2 separate regions of the Homo sapiens genome follow, and region 1 is linked to region 2. The links are contacts of gene promoters, found by promoter capture Hi-C in blood cells and fetal thymus (Javierre and others, 2016). All regions are on one chromosome and are shown on one strand. Each heading gives the region's core, a stretch centred on a gene start or on the middle of the fragment in contact. The rest is flanking DNA. Distances are from core to core; before and after follow the strand shown.

Region 1 (5,388 bases), core at 2,889-5,388, about 13 Mb after region 2:
CCCCAACTGTTCCGCAAGCCCCTCAAGGAGGATGGTGTCTTGCACTCTTCGAAAGTCCTCATACCCCTCCACACCCAGCAGCGCTCCCCCACACAGGATCCATCATCTAGTGGTGATCAAACTACTCAGAACAATGTTTCCAGGAGAGGGCAATACCTCCAATCCTACAATCTATAGGATTTAATAAGCATACCCTGTTTTCAATGAGCTCATCATCATCACTTACATGAATGGCCAAGACGGGCAAATCAATGTAGTTCAGCAACTCATAGTGGTATTTCACAGACATACAAGATGAAAAGAAGACCATAAGCTTCTTCTTTCGGTTCTTCTTAAGGAATGTAAAGAGCAGAAGGAATCTCTTTTCAGAAGGACAAACAACATATCCCTAGAAAGCGTTTAAGCAGACAGATACAAATGAACCAAGTGGACATTTTCCATTTCCTAACTTGTGTAATTTCATCAAGAGCACTGATAAACACAGTGTGTAAACTGTCATGCCTCACCTACAGCATTTTAAAAGTTCATTAACCCATTTGCTTTCTGAATGATCCTTCCAACAATTACATAAAAACACCAAGTAAGATCCCTACAGTTTTCAGTTATTGATAAAAAGTACCTGTTCAAGACCATCCACTGTTGCATTCGCTTTATCATCATCAACGCCAACATACAATGGCTCCTTTTTCAGAGAAATCCTTGCCAGGTCTTCAACTTTTCGAGTTTGGGTGGCAGAAAAGAGCATAGTCTGTCTACGTGCTGAAACAGATACATATAAAAATAACCCCAATCTTTTAGGGAATCTTTACAATTGCCTCACAACTACAAATATTCTAGGTAGAGATATCAGAAATGGGAGATATGATGTTTCTACAGAATCTACAAATATTACAAAAGGTAAAAAGGGTATATCATGAAACACTAGGTCTATAAATTTGAGGACTTAGATGAAATGGACAAACTCCTTTGAAGACAAACAACTGAAGAAAATAGGAAAACTTTAAATAGCCTTATATCTACTAAAGAAATTTTAGTTATAACCTTCATGTAAAGAAAATTCCAGGCCCAAATGGATTCCATTGGTGAATTCTACTGAACATTTAAGAAAAAAACATCAATTATTCACAAACTCTCCAATAAATTAAAAAGAGGGCTTACATGTCAACTCATTCTTCGAAGTCAGTCATTACACTATACAAAAACCTGACATGACATGACAAGAAAACTATGGACCAATACAATTCGTGAGCACATATACAAAATTTGAAATAGAATTTTAGTAAAGTGAATTCAGCAATATATAAAAAGGATAATGGCTCATGTTTATTCTAGAAATGGATCAGGTTTATTCTAGAAATGCAGGTTGGTTCAACATTTGAAAAATCAACCAATACAATTCACTATGTTAACTAAAGAAAAAACATGATTATTTCAGCAGACAGAAAAAAAACATTTGACCATCTATTTCTGATTAAAAATCCTCAGCAAACTAGGAACAGAAGGGATCTTCCTCAATCTGATAAAAGGCATCTATATAAAACCTGCAGCTAACTTCATATGTAGTTAATGGTAAAAGACTGAATGCTTTCCCCTAAGATCAGAACCAAGATAAGGATGTCTGCTCTCACCACTTCTATTCAGCACCATACTGGAGGTTCTGGCCAGGGCAATCAGGCAGGAAAAAAAAATTAAATAAAGAGGTGAAACTGTCTTTATCTGCACATGATTGCCTATATAGAAAATCCAAAAGGCTACAGTCATCTGGAAAGTCATACTGAATAATCATTCGGTACAGGATTAACTGTCTTGCTAGATACAAGATCAATATAAAATTCAACTGTGTGTGCATATATATGTGTGTATATGTGTGTGTGTATATATGTATATATTAAAGCAACGAGCAATTGGAACTTGAAATTTTAATGAAACACTCAGAGATAAATCTGACAAAAGATGTGAATAAACCTGTATCCCGAACCCCCCTAAATATGATAGAGAAAATATCGAATACATGGAGATATACCTTATTATGGGTTACATGACTCAATACTGTCTTCCTCCAATAATCTCTATTCAATAAAATCTCAGTCAAGATCTGAGACTTTTTTGGAGGGAAGGGGGAGAAACTGACAAACCAATTCTAAAATTTATATAGAAAAGCAAAGGACAAGAATACCACAACTTTAAAAGAGAACAAACTTGGGGCTAACATTACCTGATGGTCAAGACTTAATAGGAGGAACTGGAACTTTCATACACTGCTCATAGGAATGTTAAATGGTACAGCCGCTTTGGAAAACATCTGGCAGTTTTTTAAAAAGTTAAACATACACTAAACATATACCAACTAGGACACTCCTAGGTTTACTTAAGAGAAAAGGAGATATATGCCTCTACAAAGAGTTGTAGATGACTGTTCACAGCAACTTTATTTCCAGAAAATGCAACCTAATCTAGCAGCAGAAAACAGATCAATACTCACCTGGGGACAAGGTATACGTGTAAGGAGGGGTGGGAGGGAGAAATTGAAAAGGGGCAGGAGGAAACCTTTGACTGTGATGGACATGTTCATTTTCTTGATTGCAGCGATGATGTCACAGTGGTAAACAAATCAAAGAACATCAAATTGTACATTATAAATGGGTAGATATAATTATACTTTGACAAAGCTTTTAAAAATAAATTATATAATGAAGGAAACCATGGTCTTAGTTATAACCAGTTCATAATGTTGCAAGTACTATAACCAAGGTATGTACAAGTAAGGCAAAAAATCTGCGGCTTCTTGGGGGATGTTAGATGAGGTAAGAATGGGCAAGAGGTGGAGGACAGGACCTATGTGAAGACTGCTTAACGTGCCTTATAACTTCTAAAACAGCAAAACTATTATATCAAGTTATAATACATTTGATGCTTGTATTCCAAATTACCTTTCGGGTTAATTGGCACAACTACCTCACTTGGCTATGGTAAAGTTCTGGCATTAGTACAGTTTTTCTATAGGAACAACTCTTATCTACCTCCAACAGATACTTTGCAAACCAAATGCAGATGCTACCTACTTACTTGGCAAAAGTTTAATAATTTGCTTTAATTCCTCTTCAAACCCCACATCCAAGATACGATCAGCTTCATCAATAACCAGACACTGCAGGTTTTTATACATAAATCCTGGGGTATTCTAACAAAACAAAGGACAAAGAACAACCATTAGTTGTCAGTTTATGTTTCATACAAGACAATGAGACAAGCACTACATCTCTTACCTGCATATGGTCCAGCAGACGGCCTGGTGTGGCCACAATGATGTTGATCCCATTACCAAGTTTCTGTGCTTCAGCAGATCTGTTACTGCCACCCATTATCAAGCCATAGGTATGCACGTGGTGAGTCATCAGCTCCTTAAGAACACCAAAGGTTTGCATGGCTAGTTCTCTAGTAGGTGAGAGAATAAGGACTCCTGTTCCTAAAAATGATATATGGTAGAAGTCTAAATGTGGCTGTCACCACTGAGTCCGTAACAGCTACAATAAACCTCTAGTGAAATAATGGCAGAAACAAGCAGATGAACGCTTACCATTCCTGGGCATGAACCTTAACTTAACAATGAGTTCAACTGCAGGGATGAGAAAAGCCAGGGTTTTACCACTGCCTGTTTTTGCAGCTGCTAGAAGATCCCTAAATATTAAAAAGGGAAAGGAGAAAGACATTTAGCCTACTCATTTACGACGTACTACATACACACACCTTAGGCACTACGGCTAGAACATGAACAAGAAACGTCTACAGTGCTGAAATTGATCACCTGGGTTATATACTGAAATCATAAGTCAGAACTGTGCTACAACAGAAGCAGAACACCTTTCGAACACTTTCCTTCAAACATCAGTAATTAACTTAAAGCCTTTAATGTATGCTGGATACATGACCCAACATATAGTACAAAATCAACAGAATATACTGGTATGTTCTTTATCATCTACTAGTTCTAAAAATAGATGCCAATATCTAAGCTTCAATGTTAATCATACCTGCCTTCCAGAAGTGGTCTGATACTTTTATGCTGAATTTCAGTCATGTTTGTAAAACCCATTTCTTTTATTGCCTTCAGAGTGTTTTCATTGACAAGATTACATAGAGAAGCAAACGAAGTATCCTCAAAAGCTCCTAAACAGAAGACAATTTATCATTAGCAAATTTATCTTTTTTTTTAAAAAAGTATTGCTACAGTTGCCTAAATCTATTTTGCTTAGAAAAGCTTCCCGCAGTAAGAAAAGGCTAAACCTTAATTATTCATATGTGATAATATCAAGAAAAAGACCCTATATCTTTCAAGTTTCTCCACTGTTAACGGCTGTGTGAGTTATAGTCCAGAGACCATACTATAACAAAACAAGGGGTAGAGAGGAGGTATAACCAAGGAATTTATATAAAATAAAAATACCAAAACAAGGAAAATAATGAGAGTCCAGAGATAAATGAAATGTTTAAGAAATCTGATATAAAAGTGAAAACATTGAGCATTAATAAAAACTGAGTGTGAAGTCAATAATAAAAAAAAAACCTGTTAATCTCACTCCAACAAGACACAGAAGAGTCAGATACAGCCACAGAATGTTAGGCTGAGCCTACGTATCAAGTAATACAGTGGTGGTTCAGCAGAAGGCATCAAAATCACCTGGGGGTTCCCCATACTCCACATGCCCAGGGTGTAAACCAATCACTCTTGACCTTGGCATTGCTGACATCTGGGCTGAATAATTCTTTGCTGTGAAACACTATCCTGTGCCTTATAAGATATTATGCAGTGTTTCTGACCTCTACTCACCAGATCCCAGCAGACTGCTCCTAGCTCTGAGAACCAAAAATGTCTCCTAGGCTTAGGATGACCAATCTTCTCAGTAGGCTAGGGACAGAGGAGATTCTTGGGATTCAGAACTTTCAGTGCTAAAACTGTTAAAGTTCTGGGCAAACCAGGAAGAGTTACTCTTCTTACTCGGGGGGCGAATTTCCCTGCTCGAGAGCTACTACCAAAACGTTTGCAATTTGGATTAAGCAGGTCTAGGGTTGGGCCTCAACATTTTAACAAACCAACCAACCCAAACCAAATAAACAACTCAAGTAACTCCTAGACATATCTGGTTAGGAGCAGTGAATTCTAGCCTAAACTCAACTTTATAAAGGAACAAAGGCCAAAGGAGGTTAACCTCGTACAGGGCCAATCATTTTCCTATTACAACATAGAATGAGACTCAGAAAAGGACAAACCAAGGAATCCTAGAAGCTGCTAGTGTGCATATAAAATATTTGGTGTCAGGAATGAACAAAAGGAAAAAAACAGGGAACAAAAAGAACTAAAACACCACAAAATAGAAGATAAAGAGAAAA
Region 2 (5,512 bases), core at 1,188-3,687:
TGCACACTCAATCTGTGACATTGTCTTGTAAGCAATAACTGTAATGAAATATATTATGGGCTATGTAGCTAAACATATAAGACAATGTACAATGAATGCATAGGCATTATAATGGATAACATATTATGTACAAGATACTATAGGCACTGTGTTACTGGGAGATTATAATAATAATTAGTGAATCGTGTATTACCATCATCGTCAGGTATTCGTAATCTCAATGATAATAAGTAACACCCATGCCACCACTGTGTGCCAGCCACTATTCTAAGTGCTTTACTTGTGTCCATTGGGTCATTTAAGCCCTCATGATGCCCTTGTGTAGTGGGAACACCTAGAAGAGCGCAGTGATTCCTGCACATGCGGGAGGCAGGCTTGGGGAGCAGGGGTGCCCTCGCCACCCAGCCTTCCGCATGTGAGGCCCTCCGCACTGTACACGGTTCAGAACCCACCCAGTCGCATGATGTCATATATCACATGGGTATTATGTTTACATTTGTTACACACATTCTTATATTGTATAATTATATATTTTACATTTATTATGCATTTCTTAGTTTCTTATATACAATGTTTCTACATGTGTGTAAATTACTTAGGTTTATAATTATCTGTTACTTTTTTTTTTTTTTTTTTTGAGATGGAGTCTCGCTCTGTTGCCCAGGCTGGACTGCAGTGGCGCGATCTCGGCTCACTGCAAGCTCCGCCTCCCGGGTTCACGCCATTCTCCTGCCTCAGCCACCCGAGTAGCTGGGACTACAGGCGCCCGCCACCACGCCCAGCTAATTTTTTGTGTGTTTAGTAGAGACGGGGTTTCACCGTGTTAGCCAGGATGGTGTGGATCTCCTGACCTCGTGATCCGCCCGCCTCGGCCTCCCAAAGTGCTGGGATTATAGGCGTGAGCCACCGTGCCCGGCCATCTGTTACATATTTTATATCTACTTATGAATTTATCAAATAACTTTGGTCATTTTATAAATTATAATCTTTGTTATATTCATTTGTTGTATTGTTTTATGCAGTTATGCAATGTTTATTGTATAAACGGTCATTTATAATACTTTTATATATTTGTCATATTTCTAAACTTGATACATGTCACCATATATCAGTTTATGCGTTTGTATGGTATGTTTCTATGTCTGGTACATAAGCGATTACACTTTAAACACGTCATCAACTGTAATGTACAGTGCCTAGCATTCTGCGTGAGCCTTCCTAATGCTGGGCTTGCACTACCTGTATTGTAACGTTTAGATTTTTTGTTTGGTTTTGTTTTGTTTGAGATGGGATCTCACTCTGTGGCCCAGGCTGGAGTGCAGTGGCACCATCTCAGCTGTGCAGTGGAACCATCTCAGCTCACTGCAACCTCTGCCTCCCAGGTTCAAGCGAGTCCCCTGTCTCTGCTCCCTAGTAGCTGGGATTACAGGCATGCGCCCATGCCCAGTTGATTTTTGTATTTTTAGTAGAGACGGGGTTTCGCTGTGTTGCCCAGGCTGGTCTCGAACTCCTGAGCTCAAGCGATCCTCCCACCTCGGCCTCCCAAAGTGCTGGGATTACAGGTGTGAGCCACCGCACCTGGCCCACGTTTAGAATCTTTATAGGCAGTGACGAACGCCCCTACGAAGTGTGCGCCCAATATGTACTAAGTGCTTTTCACCCACATCATTTAATCCTTAGACCAGTTTGGTCATTCATGTCCCCATTTCACCAAGGGAGAAGCCGAGGTCAGAGGGGCCAGGTAGACCGCCTGGACCACACGCGGATGGCCGGGACGCGGATTCGGGACGGGAAGCGGATTCGGGCCCGGACGCGGATTCGAGCCCGGCGTTCACACCCTCACCACGCCACAGCCTCCGTGTTCCTCTTCGCCCTGCTGCAGCCCCTTCCTTCCTGTGGTCACAGGGGACAGTCAGGTCGCCAGAAGCGGCGGGGCCGGGGCTGTCCAGCGCAGCAGGGCCGCCCGCCCTCCCCTGCGGCGCCCGCCCCACCTGTCCCGCCCGCAGCCAGGTTGTTCCGGGAGCGCGACGAGGACACCGGGAACGAGGGTGTGCACGGTCCGTCCCGGCCTGGCCGTGGACGTCGCGCTCCGGGGCCGGGGGGCAGAGAGTGAAGACGGAGACAGCAAGAGCGACAGAGAAGTGCTGGGGAGAGAAACACGGAGAGACCCCCCGAGGCGGGGAGACACCGGGGACACCGAGACAGAAAGGCAGAGCCCGCCGTGCGCGGAGGACAGGCGTACGCAGGGCCAGGGCCGGGGCGCGCCGCTCGCGGACCCCGTGTGCCACTCACGCTGAACTCGCCGGCGAGGACTGCCCCCTCCCGGCCGCCCCGCGCTTCCAGCCGCTCCAGGAAGCTCCGCGCCGAGTCCAGGCTGCGGCTCATGGCGCCGCGGGCCAGCAAGGTCCAGCCCGGCCGCCGCGCGCGCGGCGAGTGTGGACGCCGCGGGAGGCGGAGGCCGGTGACTGAGTCCCCGCCCTTGCCTCGGCAGCCAATGGAAGCGCGCAGCGGCGGGCAGGGCGCCCCAGCCACCGTGTTCTGAGCCCGCGTAGCCCCACCCCGGGCGCTCGGGCCGCTGTGGCCGGAGCCCTAGGTCCTCGCGGGCTGCCCTGAGCAGAGTCCAGCGCCGGCGCTTCCCCTTTTTTTCGGCTGCCGCGCCCACTGGTGGGGGGGTGGCACGGTCCCAGGTTCGCTCCCTGCCGCTTGGGACCCGCCCTCAGATCGGGATCCGCGCCCAGGGGCCGACCTCCGGGTGCCGGCTCTGGGTGGACGGCCGAGCGGTCTCGCCGGGCCCTCCCGCCCGTCCCCTGGGAGCCAGGCCGCGCGGAGTCCGAGCTGGGGCGGGCAGCAGCCTTGGGTGGAGACGGTCGCCGAGATCAGGCTGCCCCTCGTGCCAGAGGACCCCGGGTCGGGGGCGTCCCGCGCTGTGCGCTCCAGCCGGGCCCAAGGGAGGCCGGGGAGGGGCAGCCACGCCGTGGGAAAGGCCAAGTGGCAGCGGGATCTTCTCTGTGTATTTCCCGAGGAATTTGTGGTTCCTTTTTCCCGGATGCGCTGGGGCACCAGGGTCAGTCCTGTGTGAGCATCTCGACCTGCACAAGCCTGCTGGGAAACAGAACTGAGGCACTGGAAGTGGGTTCTGGGGAACGAAGAGCTTCTCTTTTTTGCCTGCCCTGACACTCCCATCTTCAGAAAGTGTGCAGAGGTCAGAGGAGAGCCGCCGTTCCAGCTTCCGGGATCACCGAGGGGAGGCTGGAGAGAATGGACTGGCACCTGGGTCTCTTCAAGGACAGGCCTAGGTTAGCCCCCTTCTCGCCGAGGTCGGAAGAATTAAGAGGGGTGTCACTGGAAGGGGCGTCAGTGGACACCAGTTTGAGGTCGTTGAGGGGTTGAAAGGTAGCATTGGGGCCTGGATGTGTGCCTGAGTCTCTGAAGGGTCAACAGGGGCATGATGTCAGGTGGTCAATTTAATTCACTAGGGGCTATCAGAGTATTTAAGGGCACACTTTCTTAAAGGTCCCGGTAGGAAGTGGTTTTGGCTTTGCTATCGCTGCCCCAGCTGCTTAACTCAGCTGTGGCAGCATGAAAGCAGACAATATAGTGTGGCTGTGTCCCAAAGAAACCATTTATGGACAAAGAAATCAGAATTTCATGTAATGTTCATGTGTCATGAATTATTCTAGTGTGTGTGTGTGGCCTACAGGCTGTCGTTTGCTGACCTTGGCTGAAGTGATGGAGCGATCAAAGTGGCTCTGTGGGGATCAGCAGCTAGGGCTGTTTGATTTATCGTGGGGTCCGCAGGGGTCACTGTGAGATTCATGTTCATCATTTATCAGTTTCATCTTTGAGCATTCTCAGGGAGGTAATTGTTTAGGATGGTGGTGATAGGGAATTCATTGGAAGCCAGTCGGGGTCCCTTGGATGTTCATGGGGGGGGGGGTGTCAGTAGATATTAATGACAGTCATTGGGAGGCCAGTGGATACTTGGGACAAGAAGTGAAAGTAATTGTGGGGCCATTGGGATTTGGAGTGTTAGTAATTGAAGGGTCCGAAGAGTCTGGGAAGTCATTGAGAGCTCTGCTCAGTGCATGATAGTGACTCTCAGTATAATCATTGAGGGTTTGTGGATGGCCATGGAGATCCAGGGAGGTAGAATACAGAAGCATCAGTAAGCTTTCAGAAAATAAAGACATTTTCTGGGAAAATGTGAGCCCCTGAGCACACATGGTTATTCAGGGCAGTCTTTATGGGCTAGAGGATCTCTGTCCAGCAGCAGGGATCCTGTTGAGGGCCTGTCCTCATAGGCTGAGGTCTGTCTGACTGGTGGAGGGCATGTCGTCCAGCTGAAGGTCTGGTTGACTAGGTGGGTGGGGTGTTCTCTCCTCTGGGGTAATGTCTCTGTCCATTTTGGGGAGGGCACCTGTCCTTGAGGGATTCTGACCTTTGCCTGGCTGGGGGGCCCAGGTGTCTCTCTGGCCACAGGCCTATTTGGATGTCTGGCTGAGGGTCTACCCATCTGTCAGTAATCTGTCTGTTTGTCCAGCTGGGTGTTTCCCTGGGATTCTGTCCATCTGGAAGTCTGTCCAGCCAGGGTGTGTGTGTGTGTGTGTGTGTGTGTGTGTGTTTGGTGGTTTGTCTATTAGAGGATCTGAGTGACTAGCCAGATGCTGCCTTGTGGCCTGTGAACATTAAGTGGCTGAGGCTGTAGTCTGCCATTTGTACTTCCAGCTGCCTTGAGTGTCTTTCTGTCCTCGTGTTCACCCTCACTCCAAGCCCCACCTTGTTGTTTAACCCACCTGTCCTCCTGACACCTGACCGTTCCTCATGTCTCTCCAAACATCCAAACTCTTAGCTTGCCCTCTGTTCAGCTCAGGCTAGGTGTGGGGGATGGGAAGACCCCACATCTTCCAGAGGCCCTGGCCCACCCCGGCTTTTCTCTCCCGGAGGACTGCCAGCTGTGTTCTTGCAATGAGACTCACTGCTGCTGGTGGCCCTCCTGTTCACGCTGCCAGCAGCAGTCTTGCACAGTGGGAGCTGCTGGCACTGCTACAGAGACCCCAAGTGTACCAAAGCCCACGTGCCATGTGCCAGTCTGTCACCTGCCCACCAGTCAGTGTGGCTACATGGGCCGCTCAACAGAGCCAAGAGGACAAGGTAGAGGAAGATGCACAGGGACAGGTGCACAAGGCTGTGAGTTCAGCCTGCTCTGAGCCTGCAAAGGGGAAAAGAGAAACTACAGTGGAGACCCCTGGCAGACACCCCTTCCTCTGGGATGCTTGCGGGGAGCTCCTTGGAGACTGCTGGCATCTCCAGGGTACAGTTCTTCTCCAGCTTCCTTTTTTGCTTAGTTAAAAAAGGGCAGAGACCATCCTGGCTAACACAGTGAAACCCCGTTCTCTATTAAAAGTACAAAAAATTAGCCGGGCGTGGTGGCGGGCACCTGTAGTCCCAGCTGCTCGGGAGGCTGAGGCAGGAGAATGGCTTGAACCCGGGAGGCGGAGCTTGCAGTGAGCCG

Evidence for each region. Contacts are between HindIII fragments. The CHiCAGO score rates a contact against its expected background, and 5 or more counts as called.
Region 1: a fragment that was not itself captured here is called in contact with the fragment with the promoter of PTPN18 in region 2 in 1 of 17 cell types (naive CD8 T cells); the score reaches 5.7 in naive CD8 T cells.

Annotation. Positions count from the first base shown.
Region 1 is chr2:117,819,940-117,825,327 of GRCh38, reverse strand. It overlaps DDX18 (DEAD-box helicase 18), which reads right to left. Exons shown (of 14, transcript NM_006773.4): 4 at 4,032-4,167; 5 at 3,578-3,678; 6 at 3,267-3,466; 7 at 3,067-3,181; 8 at 620-759; 9 at 227-388. Among named protein-coding and RNA genes, the nearest start is that of DDX18, 7.9 kb to the right of the region's middle. RefSeq lists silencers at 4,615-4,684, 4,695-4,744. The HindIII fragment of the contact is 245 bases long and covers 4,016-4,260 here.
Region 2 is chr2:130,352,981-130,358,492 of GRCh38, reverse strand. It overlaps PTPN18 (protein tyrosine phosphatase non-receptor type 18), which reads right to left and starts at 2,437. Exons shown (of 15, transcript NM_014369.4): 1 at 2,293-2,437. The coding sequence starts at 2,385. RefSeq lists silencers at 1,998-2,047, 2,188-2,857. The HindIII fragment of the contact is 15,291 bases long and covers 1-4,172 here.